3 separate regions of the Homo sapiens genome follow, and all the other regions are linked to region 2. The links are contacts of gene promoters, found by promoter capture Hi-C in blood cells and fetal thymus (Javierre and others, 2016). All regions are on one chromosome and are shown on one strand. The core of a region is centred on a gene start or on the middle of the fragment in contact, and the rest is flanking DNA. Distances in the headings are between cores, read along the strand shown. Region 1 holds the start of GNL2 (G protein nucleolar 2). Region 2 holds the start of C1orf122 (chromosome 1 open reading frame 122). Region 3 overlaps UTP11 (UTP11 small subunit processome component).

Region 1 (4,443 bases), core at 1,886-4,385, 210 kb before region 2:
CAAAAGGCAGAAGTACACAGTGCACTATTTGATAACCAACCAGTATAACCAACAAGTCATTGCTTAAAATGCAACAAGTAGTTCACCCAAATTAGGTAAGAAGCCACCAACCACAAAAATCTCTACTTTCTCCATATGTTGCTCCAATAATTAGTACTTGAAGCTACATGGTATGACAAAGCTGACCCAATCTTTGATCTTCGATAGGATTGTATTTGAGAAGAATAGCTAATATTTTTGAGCACTTATGATGGCACTGTGTTATCCAAATTATAGGCATCATCTGATTTAATCTATACAATAATCCTATAGATATATTATCCCCATGCTGCGGAGTGAGAAACTGAGGCACAGTGGTCAGACACCTTGCCCAAGGTCAAACCGTTACTAAATGGCAGAGCCAGAATTTGTACATGAGCATTTGATCACCATCTATGGTCTTAACCACGAAGATACCTACCTCTGTGTCTCAGTTTAACAAATATTGAGTGCCTGCTCCATGCAAGGCACCATGGAGACTATAATTTTGATATATGTGTTCTTACTTTCTTAATGTTTGATTTTTGTTTAATCAACACAGCAATTCTTGCCTTACATCTCAAAGAGAAAGAGAAGGACAAACGAATAGGGTAATACTAGCCTAGCTTCTCATTTTGGGAGCCCTTTATTTACCTATTTATTCATTTATTCATTATTATTATCTTTTTTTTGAGACAGAGTCGTGCTCTGTCACCCAGGCTGGAGTGCAGTGTCGCGATCTCAGCTCACTACAACCTCCACCTCCCCGGTTCATGCAATTCTTCCACCTCAGCCTCCCGAGTAGCTGGGATTACGGGCATCCGCCATCATGCCCGGCTAATCTTTGTATTTTTGTAGAGAGGGGGTTTCATCATGTTGGTCAGGCTGGTCTTGAACTCCTGACCTCGGGTGATCCGACCGCCTCGGCCTCCCAAAGTGCTGGGATTACAGGCGTGAGCCACCACACCTGGCCAGGAGCCCCTTAAATCACCTGTCTGGTCCTGAAGTGATACAGTAGAAGACAGGCTGAAACCACAGCCCATTGGCTCTCCTAACAGTCTCTAACAGTAGAAACTGGCGGCTCTACTACTACTCACTAACTGTTGCAATTATGACAGGCCACTTCCTGTATTTTGATTCAGTCTCTTCACCTGTAAAATCATAATCTCTAAGGGCCTTTTGGGGTCTAACATTCTGAGATTCCAGTTTGTGCAAAGTGAATAATTTATTATCAATCCGGAATAAACATTCAACTTGCATTAAAATTGTCAAAAATTCTAAACCATATTTTAAAACAAAGTTTTATTAATTAAACCTGAATGGAAGGAACTCTCCCATAGGATGTCTTGTTAATCGTACAGGTGGAACCTCGCCAAAACTTACACACATCTCCTAAACAGCCTTACTGCAATGATCATACTGACTTCTTTGTAGGGTTCTCTAAGCACTTTACCAGATAGAATAATTCCAAGGGCCAAAACTATAAGCCCTTTCTCATTTTAAAGGTCAAAGCTAAGGTGGCAGGCAAGTATGATCACGTGTAAAAGGCCCGAAGGGTCAACCTACACCATTTTTAATCTGACTTTCTCTGCATCTCTCAACTGGAGAGGACCCAAGGCTGTCAGCCTGAGTGTTCACTTTCCTTGACTTCAGACCAGTTGACTACACTTTGGCCTGCCAGGCGTGCACTGAGCCCTCCTCAGTTCCCCCCTGAGAAGAAACCACCACAAATATTGCTTTCCTTTTTCCCTTTTCATCCCCAACAGCCACCCCGCTCGTAGTCATTCTAAGCAATGCCACTCGAGTAACCCTCCTTCCCCTCCAGTGCTCCTCGGAGCCCTTCCCTATACTTCCTCCAAGCTCCACCCTCGATCAGCCCTGCCGCCTGTACCTGGGTTTGTGCTGGCCTTGGACGGGTTGATGGTGCTCCGTCCTTTGTACTTGGGCTTCACCATCTTGGCGACGAGACCGGGACCGGAGTGCGAGGTCCGGCTTACGTGGTGAAACAAACTTTTATGTTCCCAAGCCCGGCCGAAGACACCCGCCTGAACCACGCCGGACCACGTGTGCACGACGTACGTCACTTCCGCTCGCGTCCCTCTCGGCCTCAGAGCGACTTCCTGTGAACGCGCGGCGCGCGCCGTCACCCTCCTGGCTCCGCCCCCGCTCCAGCCGCCTAGGCGTCGCCCTGCGTGGAGCCCCAGCCCGCTCCAGCCCTAGCAACCGCCAAGCTGCCCGTTCATAGCAACCGCCTAGTTAACCTGAACGCGCGGCCAGAGCTCCCAGTTGGGTCCACCTCCGAATAAAGAAGCTTCTTCCCAGGCCAGTGGCACAAGCTTAAGTTTGTCTTCTGAATTTGTCTTCTAAGTCCTTCCAAAAGTTGCCGACCACACAGCAGCCAAATATCCGTTAGGAGGTGTCATTCTCTTCCTTACAACTCCAGTGGCTTATCATCACTCTTAGAATGAGAGGTAGGGGAAGGGAGAAGGGAGAAACAGACAGAGACAGAGATTGATTCAAACTTTTTGCCATCCCTACAGGATTCTGTGATCTGGCCCCTGCCTGCCTATTTATCTAATCTCATGTGTACGTCCCTCCCTCTGGTTATTCTGACATTTACACTGGATATTCTCTCTGCCTGAATCACTCTTTCCCAGAATCTTTGCATAGCTGTCATTCAATCCTAAGCTCAAATATCACCTATTGGTAGGCCTGCAAGAATTAGCAAATAGAAATACAGGACACCAAATTAAATTAGAATTTCAGAGAAAAAAAATGAATACTTTTCTTTAGTACACCTCCAACAGTGCCTGGAAAATACTTAGACTAAAAAAGTATTCATCGTTTGCCTGAAATTCAAATGTAACTGTACGTTCTGTATTTTATCTGGTGACCCTTCCTGCTGTGAGAACTCATTCCTGTCTAATTTGTCTAAATCAGCCACCTTTCACCCTTTCACAGTTATTCTGTTACAGTATTCTGTTTTATTTATTTCATGGCATTTATCACTAGTTGAATTTTTTTTACAAGTTTATTGGCTGCTTCCCCCAAACTAGAATGTAAGATTCTTAAAAGCAGGGACCTTGTTAATTTGTTCACTGCTGTGTCTTTAAGACTTGAATAGCATCTGAAACAAAGGACTCAAAAAATATTCATTAAGTGAAAGAATGAGTAGATGGGAATGTCTCTTGCCTTGAGGATGAAGGAAGGCATTAAGACCCAGTGATTTCTGTTTCTACTAGCCAGAATAAAGTGTCTAGATGCCAGTGTTTGAACCAAGAAGCCCTCTCTCTTTTTACAATTTATTTTTTGTTTGTTTGTTTTTGTTTTTGTTTTTTGAGACGGAGTCTCGCTCTTGTTGCCCAGGCTGGAGTGCAGTGGCCCGGTCTCGGTTCACTGCAACCTCCACCTCCCGGGTTCAAGCAATTCTCCTGCCTCAGCCTCCCAAGTAGCTGAGATTACAGGCGCATGGTATCATGCCCAGCTAATTTTTGTATTTTTAGTAGAGACGGGCTTTCACCACATTGGCCAGGCTGGTCTCAAACTCCTGACCTCAGGTGATCCACCTGCCTCAGCCTCCCAAAGTGCTGGGATTACAAGTGTGAGCCACCTCGCCTGGTCCCTCTCTCTTTTTTGGTACCTCAAATTGTCAGAAAATGGCCATCTTTGTACCCTCTGGATAGGCCAAAGAAGAGATGGTTAGGCAAGAGGAAGGGTGGATTCATGCAGTGTAGCTCATTTCATAAAAACAAACAATTTGTTATAAAGTGAGGTATTCTAATTGAGCAGGGGATGATTGAGTCTTTATTTCTCTGAGTTTGAAACAAACCCCAAAACATTCTCTTTAGAGCAAAAGCAGGCCATGTCATAGGCTAGAGCTGGAAATACCTTCTGTCCCTCAAGCTTCGCTTTTATTGCCCCAAGGGCAAGTATCATGAGATTAAATGCAGCTCTGCTGGGAAGGCCCTGACTGTGACCTGTGTTAGGGAAGCTCTGAGAGCTATTTGGAAAAAACTTCATGATCAGTGAAGATGCCCCCTTCCACCCCACACTGTCCCTCTGATCCCCAAAACAAGGATACCATAGCCTCCTCCCAGAGAGAAGATTCAGTTAATGTGTTTCTGATGCCTCAAGTTGGTGCAAACCAGAATAAACACGGATGGCAAAAATCAGCCTATGAGCTCATTCAGGCTTTGATCAGAGACATAATTTCATTATGAAATTTTGAATCAGGCTGTTGTGAAGTCTTGCCAAGGAGTTTCATTTTCCCAGATGATATGGTGGGTTGTTTCTCTCCTGTTCTCATACTCTGCTTGCATTTATCTTACAAACTTTCCATCTATTTTTATAATCTGACCCATCAATCCTTTTACAACAATATTTGCCGATCTCGACAACCAACTTCAATTCTACCAGCAGATAAAA
Region 2 (4,552 bases), core at 17-2,516:
CTGTCGTGAAGATTTATAGCCTAACTGTGTTCTCCAGAAACTGTTATCTCCAGAAAAACAGGAAGACATTGTTCTTATAATCTTTCCTATTATTATAAAGACTGAAGAAAAGACCAATTCTCCCCCTGGCTTTTCAGACTTTGAGATAAAATCTTTCAAATTTTTTTAATTTATATTGCCCCCCACCACCTCCCTGCCAGCTGGGCAACCTTCCCACTGTTGGCCCAAGAACTCTCATGCCTGGCCATCCCAGTGTACTATCAATGCCACTGATTCACAGAAAACAGTATGTGCGCTGGTGACATTTCCAGGGGAAGGACTGGGTAAACTCACCTCGACATTCAGAGAACTGGCCTGGGAGCTGAGGTTGGCACTAGTGAGAGCAAGCGGACCCTCAAACATCTGAGCCAAGTCTTGCATAAAAGCATGATCAGGAATCCGAATGCCTACAAGCTGTAAGGCAAGGGGAAAGGGATCATGAGAAAGGTTGGAAGGGATAAGAGGGTAAGTCTTATCTGGATCCTAGTGAAAGCCAAGTGGCCTGGAGTCTGGGGACACAAGAGAAAACTTGACTCACAGGCGTAAAAGGGTTTAGGTCCTTGTTGAGCTCCTCCGAGCGTTCCATCACCAGGGTCACTGGTCCTGGCAGTAGGTCTTTCAGGAGCCCCTCAGGTACTCTCACACGGCAGTATCTGGGAAACACAGAAGAATAAATCCATTCAAAATTGAAGGGCCACTGGTGGTCCTTTCCTAGACTCTAGGCAGACGTAGAAAAGGAATCCTTCGAGTTTACAATGGGAGCCGCCTGTCTCCCTGCTTCACCTCCCTAAGAGCTTGAGCAGAAAGCAGGGCTCCAGAGGCGCACCCCTGGCTTGACGCCCATGTGCCTCTGGTCTCAGGGACTACAACAGCTGCACCGCTGTGATATCATGATAGTGGGATCAAGCTCCACGTTTTATTTTCTTCAAGGCATTCGCTATTAAATTAAGCTACTGTGTTTGTTTGCTTTTTTCCCGGGGGCCTCCCCAATTAGCACAAATACGCCAAGGGAACAGGGTCCCTGCCTTTCTCGTGTGTTGCTGCTTCCCAGCAGCATGTAGTTCAGGGCCCGGGGCACGTTAAGTCCTCGGTACATATTTCCAGTTCCGGATTCCTTGGTGAGCCTGGACAAGCCCCTCCCGCTCTCTGCGCCTCAGTCTCCCAAGCCTGTCACCGGAAACCCCTCCCGCGGTGCCGCCCCTAGCGGGGCCGGGTCGGGGCGGCCTTACCTGTAGACGTCGGCCACGCGGCCGAGGCATACGGCCAGAGGCTTGGCCTCGCTGCGACCCTTGAGGCGGTACACAGCGCGCAGAGCCGCCGAGCAGCTCGCCGCGCAGGCCAGGCCGTACAGCGTATCGGTGGGGACGGCCACCACGGCGCCGGCGCGCAGCTCGGCCACGGCGGCCCGCAGCGCCTCGGTCCAGCCGGCGCGCTCCGGGCTCGCGGCCTGCACGGCCCCGCTCCCCGGGAGCCGCAACAGCCGGGCGCCGGGGGCCGCCGGAGCGGGACTCGGCGGGCGGAAGAGGCGACCGCTCCGGGAGCCAGCAGGCCCCTCGCTCAACCCCACGCTGGCAGCCACCGCGGCCCTCATCCCCCTGCACCGACGCGCCGGAGACATCCGCCCAGGCCCGCTTCCGGGAGGAAGTGACGCTCCCAGCCAGCTTCCGGTCCAGGAGACTCGGCCCCGCCTCTGCGCCGGGCAGCTTAAAGGGACCACGACCCCCAGGAGGATTGAAGGAGACCGGTGGGGACGGGGCGGGGCGCAGCCTTGCGAAGCCCTAACGCAGCGCTGGGGAGGGGGGCGGCCGAAAGGGGGGCGGTGGTCGGGCCGCGCAAGCGGAGATGGAATGGGGCCCGGGCTCAGACTGGTCACGGGGGTGAGAGGGGGCCCGTCGGGGCGGGAGGAAGGGGCTTGGCCCCGCGCAAGCGCCGGCCCTGACCGTCTGTCTCTCGCTCTCTCCCGGGCAGGGAGGCTGCCGGCGTGGACCGCGGGAAGGCGGGGCTGGGGCTCGGCGGGAGGCCACCCCCACAGCCGCCCCGGGAGGAGCGCGCCCAGCAGCTGCTGGACGCGGTGGAGCAGCGGCAGCGGCAGCTCCTGGACACCATCGCAGCCTGCGAGGAGATGTTACGGCAGCTGGGCCGCCGGCGCCCGGAGCCGGCTGGTGGCGGGGTTAGTGCCCACCCTGGGCTGGGCTGGGGTGGGGTGGGGTCTGCCCACTGGCTAGGCTGGCCAAGCCCTAGCTTACCCTGGAGGGGGGAAGTATGTCTCCGCCGCTTTATCCCTAACCTCCTTTGATCTGGTGAGAGGTTTCGAAAAAGTTAATACTATCCAAATGCCAAATGGCCACATCCTTGTGGGGCCTAATCCAAGGCCTTGCCTCCCAGCCTCACTTTTTTCCTTTCTGTTCCAACTAGAACGTCTCAGCCAAACCTGGAGCGCCCCCCCAGCCGGCTGTCTCCGCCAGAGGCGGCTTTCCAAAGGATGCTGGCGATGGAGCTGCGGAGCCCTGACCATCCCCGAGCAGAATACCCTGACTTCTCTCCCTCCCCAGGGCCGGTGGCTGGACTCTGAACAACTCCCTTCAGTAAAGGGGCCAGTCTTCACTGGCAGTGGCTGGTACTTGGCTCTCAGCCTGGAGTGGCAGCTCTGCTAGCAGCTGGGTTCACTCCCACTTCATCCTGGCTGAAAGCAGTGCTGTGCTTTGAAATGCAGCCAATGAATACCCAGTCTGATTACCCAGATTTGGGCAGACCAGCAGTGCTCGCCAGAGTGGTCTGGCCTGCTATGGGGGATCCAGGTGGTGTTACATGTCCATTTCATGTTTTGGGGGCTTTTAGCCCCACAAAACACCTTCAGTAGAGCCTTGATTAAAAGGAAACCTGCAGACTCTCCTGGTGACCGACGTTTCCTTTCTGTCCCCTCTCCAAGACTGATGGCTGGGAAGGGGGGAGTGGTGGAAAAATGTCAACTATGGGCAGGGTTGGTAAGAAATGCCACAGATACTACCAGATTTAAATAAGCATTTAATTAGGATTTCATTAGTATTTAATATTGCTTTTTCAATTCCAAAAAGTTAAATTTTCACTTTTTAGCAGATATTTTAAAGTACAATATTAAGTTTATACAAAATGAGCAATTAAGCAAACACCATTATTTCACATTCTTCAAAAATACAAATTCATATTTATTCTTTTTTGGGTTTGGAGGTTTCTTCCTTTGGAAGTACTGAACCTGTAACGTTTTCACATCGCTCAGTGGAAGTCCGTTGTTCCCATGTTTCACACTTACTTTTACATAATCCAAATAAAACTATTTGGGATTTTAAAAGTTGTCACCAAGACCCCGGCCAATGATTAGTGTATGTCAAAAAAAAGGGCTCTTGGGGGCTCTTGCCTTTCCTGGCTAGAAGATCTGAGCCAGAAATTCAGCAAAAATCTGTTTCCAGCCACCCTCCCCAAATAGGGACTAGAAAGAGTTCACAGGAAAAGGGAACAGACACCTTGAACTCTGACCCCCACCCCCACATTCTCCAAAACACAACGAAGGATGTAGACTGTTGAGTCAAATAGCCCTTGGGAGGCCTGAGAACACAGCAGGAAAAGGGCAAGAGAAAGCCTCTGACTTGGCACACTACGAGGATAACAAGGATATTGCAAAAAACACCCCTGGGTTTTGGTGCAAAAAGGTTTTATGAAAAATTTTCCCATAAGAAAAAGTAGAAACTGCATTGAGCTGAGAAAGTGACACTACATTATCACCCAATTTTTGGCCCAACAGGCACACCACCAAAAGGGCAGTGTGTGGTTTTAAACCTCAATTCCAGTAAAAAAGCTTGTACTATGTACACATTGACATAAAGATCCAGTTTAATTTGCATTTTTCAGTGCAGACTGAGAAGCCCTCTCTTGAACAGGAGTAACAGTGAGAAATGCCCAGTGGTCGTCGGCTTCCCCAAAGGGCATCAGAAGAAATACAGGACTGTTTCCCTCTCTCCCTAAAAAACATGCAAGAGGAAACAGGCCAAAATGGCTAACCAATCAGAAATATGCTTCAGTTTTGTTGCCTCCACCCCCAAATATTAAGGAACAGACAATTTCTGATCTATGTCACAGCAGAACTATTTGCATATTGGATCTATGAAAATCCTTCTGCTTTGGCTGAAGTATATTCTAAAACTTGTCTATTCTATAGCCTGAGAATTGAAGATAAAATGGGGGAGGTGGAGTAAAGGAAGAAAGTTGATAATGATTCATGGGATGTAATGTTTGTTTATAGGATTTAATGAAGGCTGGAGGCCTTTTTGCTTAAGGAACCAACACAGGTAGTATGGGGAGCAGTATGGAAATGGCTCATGTTGCCCCCTGCCACCCATGCCTCCCCAAACATATTTCTGATTGGTGGTGTAAGACAATTGTAAACTCTTGAGAAATATTGTTGCAGTTCCACAAATCAATGGTTTCAATCACTCTGGAAAAGTCTTTAAGGACAATGGATGTGATTACAAATATAAAA
Region 3 (4,319 bases), core at 26-2,525, 210 kb after region 2:
AAGGAGTTTTAATTTGTACTTTGTTTGGTGTCTCCCTGTAATGATATAAATGGCACTGAAACATATATAGGCTGGGGACAGTTAATTTCAGGTTCCACTGGAATAGGAACTGTTGATTAGACTGTGGACCCTGCGAAGACATGAGCTCAGCTCAGTGACAGTGGAGTGTCCAGATCCAGTCAGTGCTTTTGGCTTTTTTGAGTTTCACTCTGTGTGACCTTTTAGATGCTTGTAAAGTTTGCTTATTGTGGGTTTTTGGTTTTTTAAAATTATCTATTTTTTTTTTTTTGCTATGAACCTCATTTAACCTGTCTTTTAGTGACTACCGTAAAAAACAAGAATACCTCAAAGCTCTTCGGAAGAAGGCTCTTGAAAAAAATCCAGATGAATTCTACTACAAAATGACTCGGGTTAAACTCCAGGTGGGTGCCCAATGGCTTGGTTGGTGTTTTGAGCTCCACACATTGGAAAATAAGGACAGGGAGGAGATGGAGAGGAAGAATCGTTGGCCTTAATTTAACCCTTCTCTGGTTACTCCAGGTGCTCTTGGTCAGTGTCCAAGGCAAACCCTCCACTTCCAGAGGAGCGTGCATTTTTACCTTTGAATCTGGGTTGTCTTATACCTGGAGCTGTTCTAGGACAGATGACTGGAGGTGCTACATTGAACGTACGCCTCAGGGGCCTGTGTCTAGGATTGCTGTTAGCATACAGCATTTGGTTGTCTTTTTGTTTTTTTTTTTGAGATGGACTCACTCTCTGTTGCCCAGGCTGGAGTGCAGTGGTGCGACCTCGGCTCCCTGCAACCTCTGCCTCCCGGGTTCAAGTGATTCTCGTGCCTCAGCCTCTCGAGTAGCTGAACTACAGGCACACACTACTGTGCCCGGCTAAGTTTTTGTATTTTTAGTAGAGACGGGGTTTCACCATGTTGGTCAGGCTGGTCTTGAACTCCTGACCTCAAGTGATCTGCCCATCTCGGTCTCCCAAAGTGCTGGGATTACAGGTGTGAGTGACCGCACTTGGCCTATGGTTGTCTTTGTTCTAGCCGTGCACTGTGCCAACAACTTATTAATGATTTTAATCTAATAGGGAATATATCTTTTAAATTTGGATTTTAGGATGGAGTACATATTATTAAGGAGACTAAGGAAGAAGTAACCCCAGAACAACTAAAGCTGATGAGAACTCAGGACGTCAAATATATAGAAATGAAGAGGGTTGCAGAAGCTAAGGTAATTCACTCTTTGTTCTGATTGGTTTTATTGGTTAAGAAGGGAAACTTAAATTCATCAATCTCAAGTTATTCATTAATTTCTTCTGGCATTTACAATCTCACTTGATTGTAATAATGATTTAGAAGTATAGTTAGCATGGTAGAGTGGAAAGAGTTCAGGTTTGGGAATGAGACAGACCTAGGGTTTGAGTTCTGGCACTGCCATAAATTACTAGCCCCATGACAATGGGCAAATTCAACTCCCTGAGGCTCTTCCCTCATTTCTGTCTCAGGCGACTGTTGCAGGGATTAAGTGCGTCTTGGGAAGTGCCTAGCCCAATACCTGATATTTGTTGGGATCCTTTCCTTTAAAAGAATAAAGCAAGTTCTTTGCTGGCTGGCAATAATGATGTGAAATGGTTTAAACTTTTGCAGTTTTTTTTTTTTTTTGGTACCCTAGAAGAATCTAATATAAAGTGAGACCATATTCTGTGTTCTAGAAAATCGAAAGACTAAAATCAGAGCTCCATCTGCTGGATTTCCAGGGGAAGCAACAGAACAAGCATGTGTTCTTTTTTGACACCAAAAAGGAAGGTATGAAATGTTTGAAGGTTTCTGGGACAGTCTACCATGCCAGTCTGTGTCATTTGGTGTTAGAAACCGACAGTGCCTTAAGGATTGTCTTGAATTTTAGTTGAACAGTTTGATGTCGCAACTCACCTGCAAACAGCCCCGGAGCTAGTCGACAGAGTCTTTAATAGGCCCAGGATAGAGACCTTGCAGAAAGAAAAAGTGAAAGGAGTTACCAATCAGACTGGACTTAAGGTAATTTTCTCTGTTGTTCTTCACATGTGAGCTTAGGGGAATCTAGGTGTTTTTTTTTTGTTTTTTTTTTTTTGCTACTGCATTTAAAATAATTTTTAAAATTTATTTTATTTTATTTTTTAGTCAGAGTCTCACTGTCTCCCAGGCTGGAGTGCAGTGGCACGATCTCGGCTCACTGCAACCTCCGCCTCCTGGGTTCAAGCAATTCTCATGCCTCAGCCTCCCCAGTAACTGGGACTATAGGGGTGCAACACCACACCCAGCTTATTTCTGTATTTTTCATAGAGATGGGGTTTCGCCATGTTGGCCAGGCTGGTCTTGAACTCCTGACCTCAGTTGATCTGCCTGCCTTGGCCTCCCAAAGTGTCGGGATTACAAGCGTGAGCCACTGTGCCTGGCCTAAAATAATTATTTATTTATGGAAAACTCATGAGTTCCCTTAGAAAAGTGGATTTGTAGGATGATTTGATGATGGGATGGAAGTGGAGAAGGGCTTCCTAATTTCTATGATCGGAGGAGGTATAGTGGTCAGAAGCTTAGGTTCTGGCCTTTAGACCTGGGTTTGAATCCCAATTCTGACCCTGCGCTTTGTGCTTTTAATACTTGTAACAGATGCCAGTGTTTTGAAAATGCAGAGAAAGGGATTGCTGAAGATTAAAGGATTTGCAATACTTTAATATTGAACCTTTAGCAGTGAATACGCACATCAAAAGGTCTTTCTGTGTTTTTATTTTTCTTGAGACAGGGTCTCACTGTCACCCAGGCTGGAGTGCAATGGTGTGATTATGGCTCACTGCAGTCTCCACCTTCTGGGCTTAAGCGATCCTCCTGCCTCAGCCTCCTGGGTAGCTGGGACCACAGGTGTGTGCCACCATGCCTAGCTAATTTTAAATTTTTTTTGTAGAAACGGGGTCTCGCTAAGTTGCCCAGGCTGGTCTTAAACTCCTGAGCTCAAGTGTTTACTCCCGCCTTGGCCTCCTGAAGTGTTGGGATTACAGGCGTGAGCCACCATGCCTGCCCAAAAGGTCTTTCATATTGTGTATTGTAACAAAAATTTTGTTTTGGCTTTTCCTTATGGTGCTTTCCGTCACTGTAACTGGGTTGTGCAGAAGACATGCTTTTCCTGAAAGCCTTCTGGAGTTGAACTCTTCTGACTGATTCATTAAAAAAAAATGCTGTCAATGTGTTTCAAGCAGACAGCTGTTCTGTTTTGATTTGAATCATTTACACTGCATCAGTTTTGCTTCCAATGTTTAATTTCACAGCAGTTTTCTCTAGCTCAGAGGCAGCTAAACTTGCTTTAGTAATATAAATACCCCTAATTAGTTTGACTATATTGGGTAATCCCATAAATCTGACAGTCTGTGCAATAAAGCGAAAACAAAAGCTGTCTGAAACCACTGCTGTGAGACTGTGCTAGAATCTGTGAATTGTTGAAGTCTAAGGCCCAGTAATATTTCCTTCTGTAGATAACACTTCCAGCCAAAGAGCTTGCTCATGAGTGTTCTTGTGATAACCCTGTTGTTTGTCAATTAGGTGTACTTTTTTTTTTTTTTGAGACGGAGTCTCACTCTGTCACCCAGGCTGGAGTGCGGTGGCGTGATATCGGCTCACTGCAACCTCTGCCTCCTGGGTTCAAGCAATTCTCTTGCCTCAGCCTCCCGAGTAGCTGGGATTACAGGTGCCCGCCACCACGCCTGGCTAATTTTTTGTATATTTAGTAGAGACAGGGTTTCACCATTTTGGCTAGGCTGGTCTTGAACTCCTGACCTTGTGATCCACCCACCTCAGCCTCCCAAAGTGCAGGGATTACAGGCGTGAGCTACCGCGCCCGGCAATTAGGTGTACTTTCAATTAGCCGTGTCACTGACGCTTCTCAAGAATTGTGGTAGTCCCTAAAGAGATTAGTATTCCAAATTCCCATGTAGAATAGTTCACCAGCATAGCTTTTGAGAAGTTAGGGAGGTTTAGATTTTTGCCATTTTTGTCTAGTAATTATGTTTCTTTCTATTTTGTTTACTGCAAAATCATTTTTATTAAGAGACTGCTGGTGGGTGGATTGCAAGGATATTTTGTCTGTAACTTCGAGTGGGTAGACAACCCATGAGTGAGCTTTAGGAGGTCTGAGAAAACCCCCCTTTCTCACTGGTATTTTGTGCAGATAGGTATATGTGCTTGCACAACCTTTTACAAATGTGTATGTACATTTATCTCAAGAAACATCCCATGCTGGGCGTGGTGGCTCATGCCTGTAGTCCCAGCAATTTGGGAGGCCAAGGCAGGT

What was found. The method cuts DNA at HindIII sites, captures the fragments that hold promoters and counts their contacts. A CHiCAGO score of 5 or more calls a contact.
Region 1: a contact is called between a fragment that was not itself captured here and the fragment with the promoter of C1orf122 in region 2, in 2 of 17 cell types (non-activated CD4 T cells and fetal thymus). The highest score is 5.3, in non-activated CD4 T cells.
Region 3: a contact is called between a fragment that was not itself captured here and the fragment with the promoter of C1orf122 in region 2, in 2 of 17 cell types (fetal thymus and monocytes). The highest score is 6.9, in fetal thymus.

The regions. Positions count from the first base shown.
Region 1 is chr1:37,593,850-37,598,292 of GRCh38, forward strand. GNL2 (G protein nucleolar 2) reads right to left here and starts at 2,088. Exons shown (of 16, transcript NM_013285.3): 1 at 1,910-2,088. The coding sequence starts at 1,973. RefSeq lists enhancers at 1,587-1,646, 1,817-2,006. The HindIII fragment of the contact is 1,567 bases long and covers 2,353-3,919 here.
Region 2 is chr1:37,806,524-37,811,075 of GRCh38, forward strand. It overlaps C1orf122 (chromosome 1 open reading frame 122), which reads left to right and starts at 1,267. Exons shown (of 3, transcript NM_198446.3): 1 at 1,267-1,916; 2 at 2,008-2,209; 3 at 2,455-2,931. The coding sequence starts at 1,882. The coding sequence ends at 2,550. YRDC (yrdC N6-threonylcarbamoyltransferase domain containing) reads right to left here and starts at 1,685. Exons shown (of 5, transcript NM_024640.4): 1 at 1,269-1,685; 2 at 578-692; 3 at 334-453. The coding sequence starts at 1,657. MTF1 (metal regulatory transcription factor 1) reads right to left here. Exons shown (of 11, transcript NM_005955.3): 11 at 3,051-4,552. RefSeq lists silencers at 1,335-1,594, 1,775-2,324. The HindIII fragment of the contact is 6,155 bases long and covers 1-3,869 here.
Region 3 is chr1:38,017,349-38,021,667 of GRCh38, forward strand. UTP11 (UTP11 small subunit processome component) reads left to right here. Exons shown (of 8, transcript NM_016037.4): 3 at 320-422; 4 at 1,116-1,229; 5 at 1,711-1,804; 6 at 1,905-2,035. Among named protein-coding and RNA genes, the nearest start is that of UTP11, 6.8 kb to the left of the region's middle. The HindIII fragment of the contact is 2,585 bases long and covers 1-2,568 here.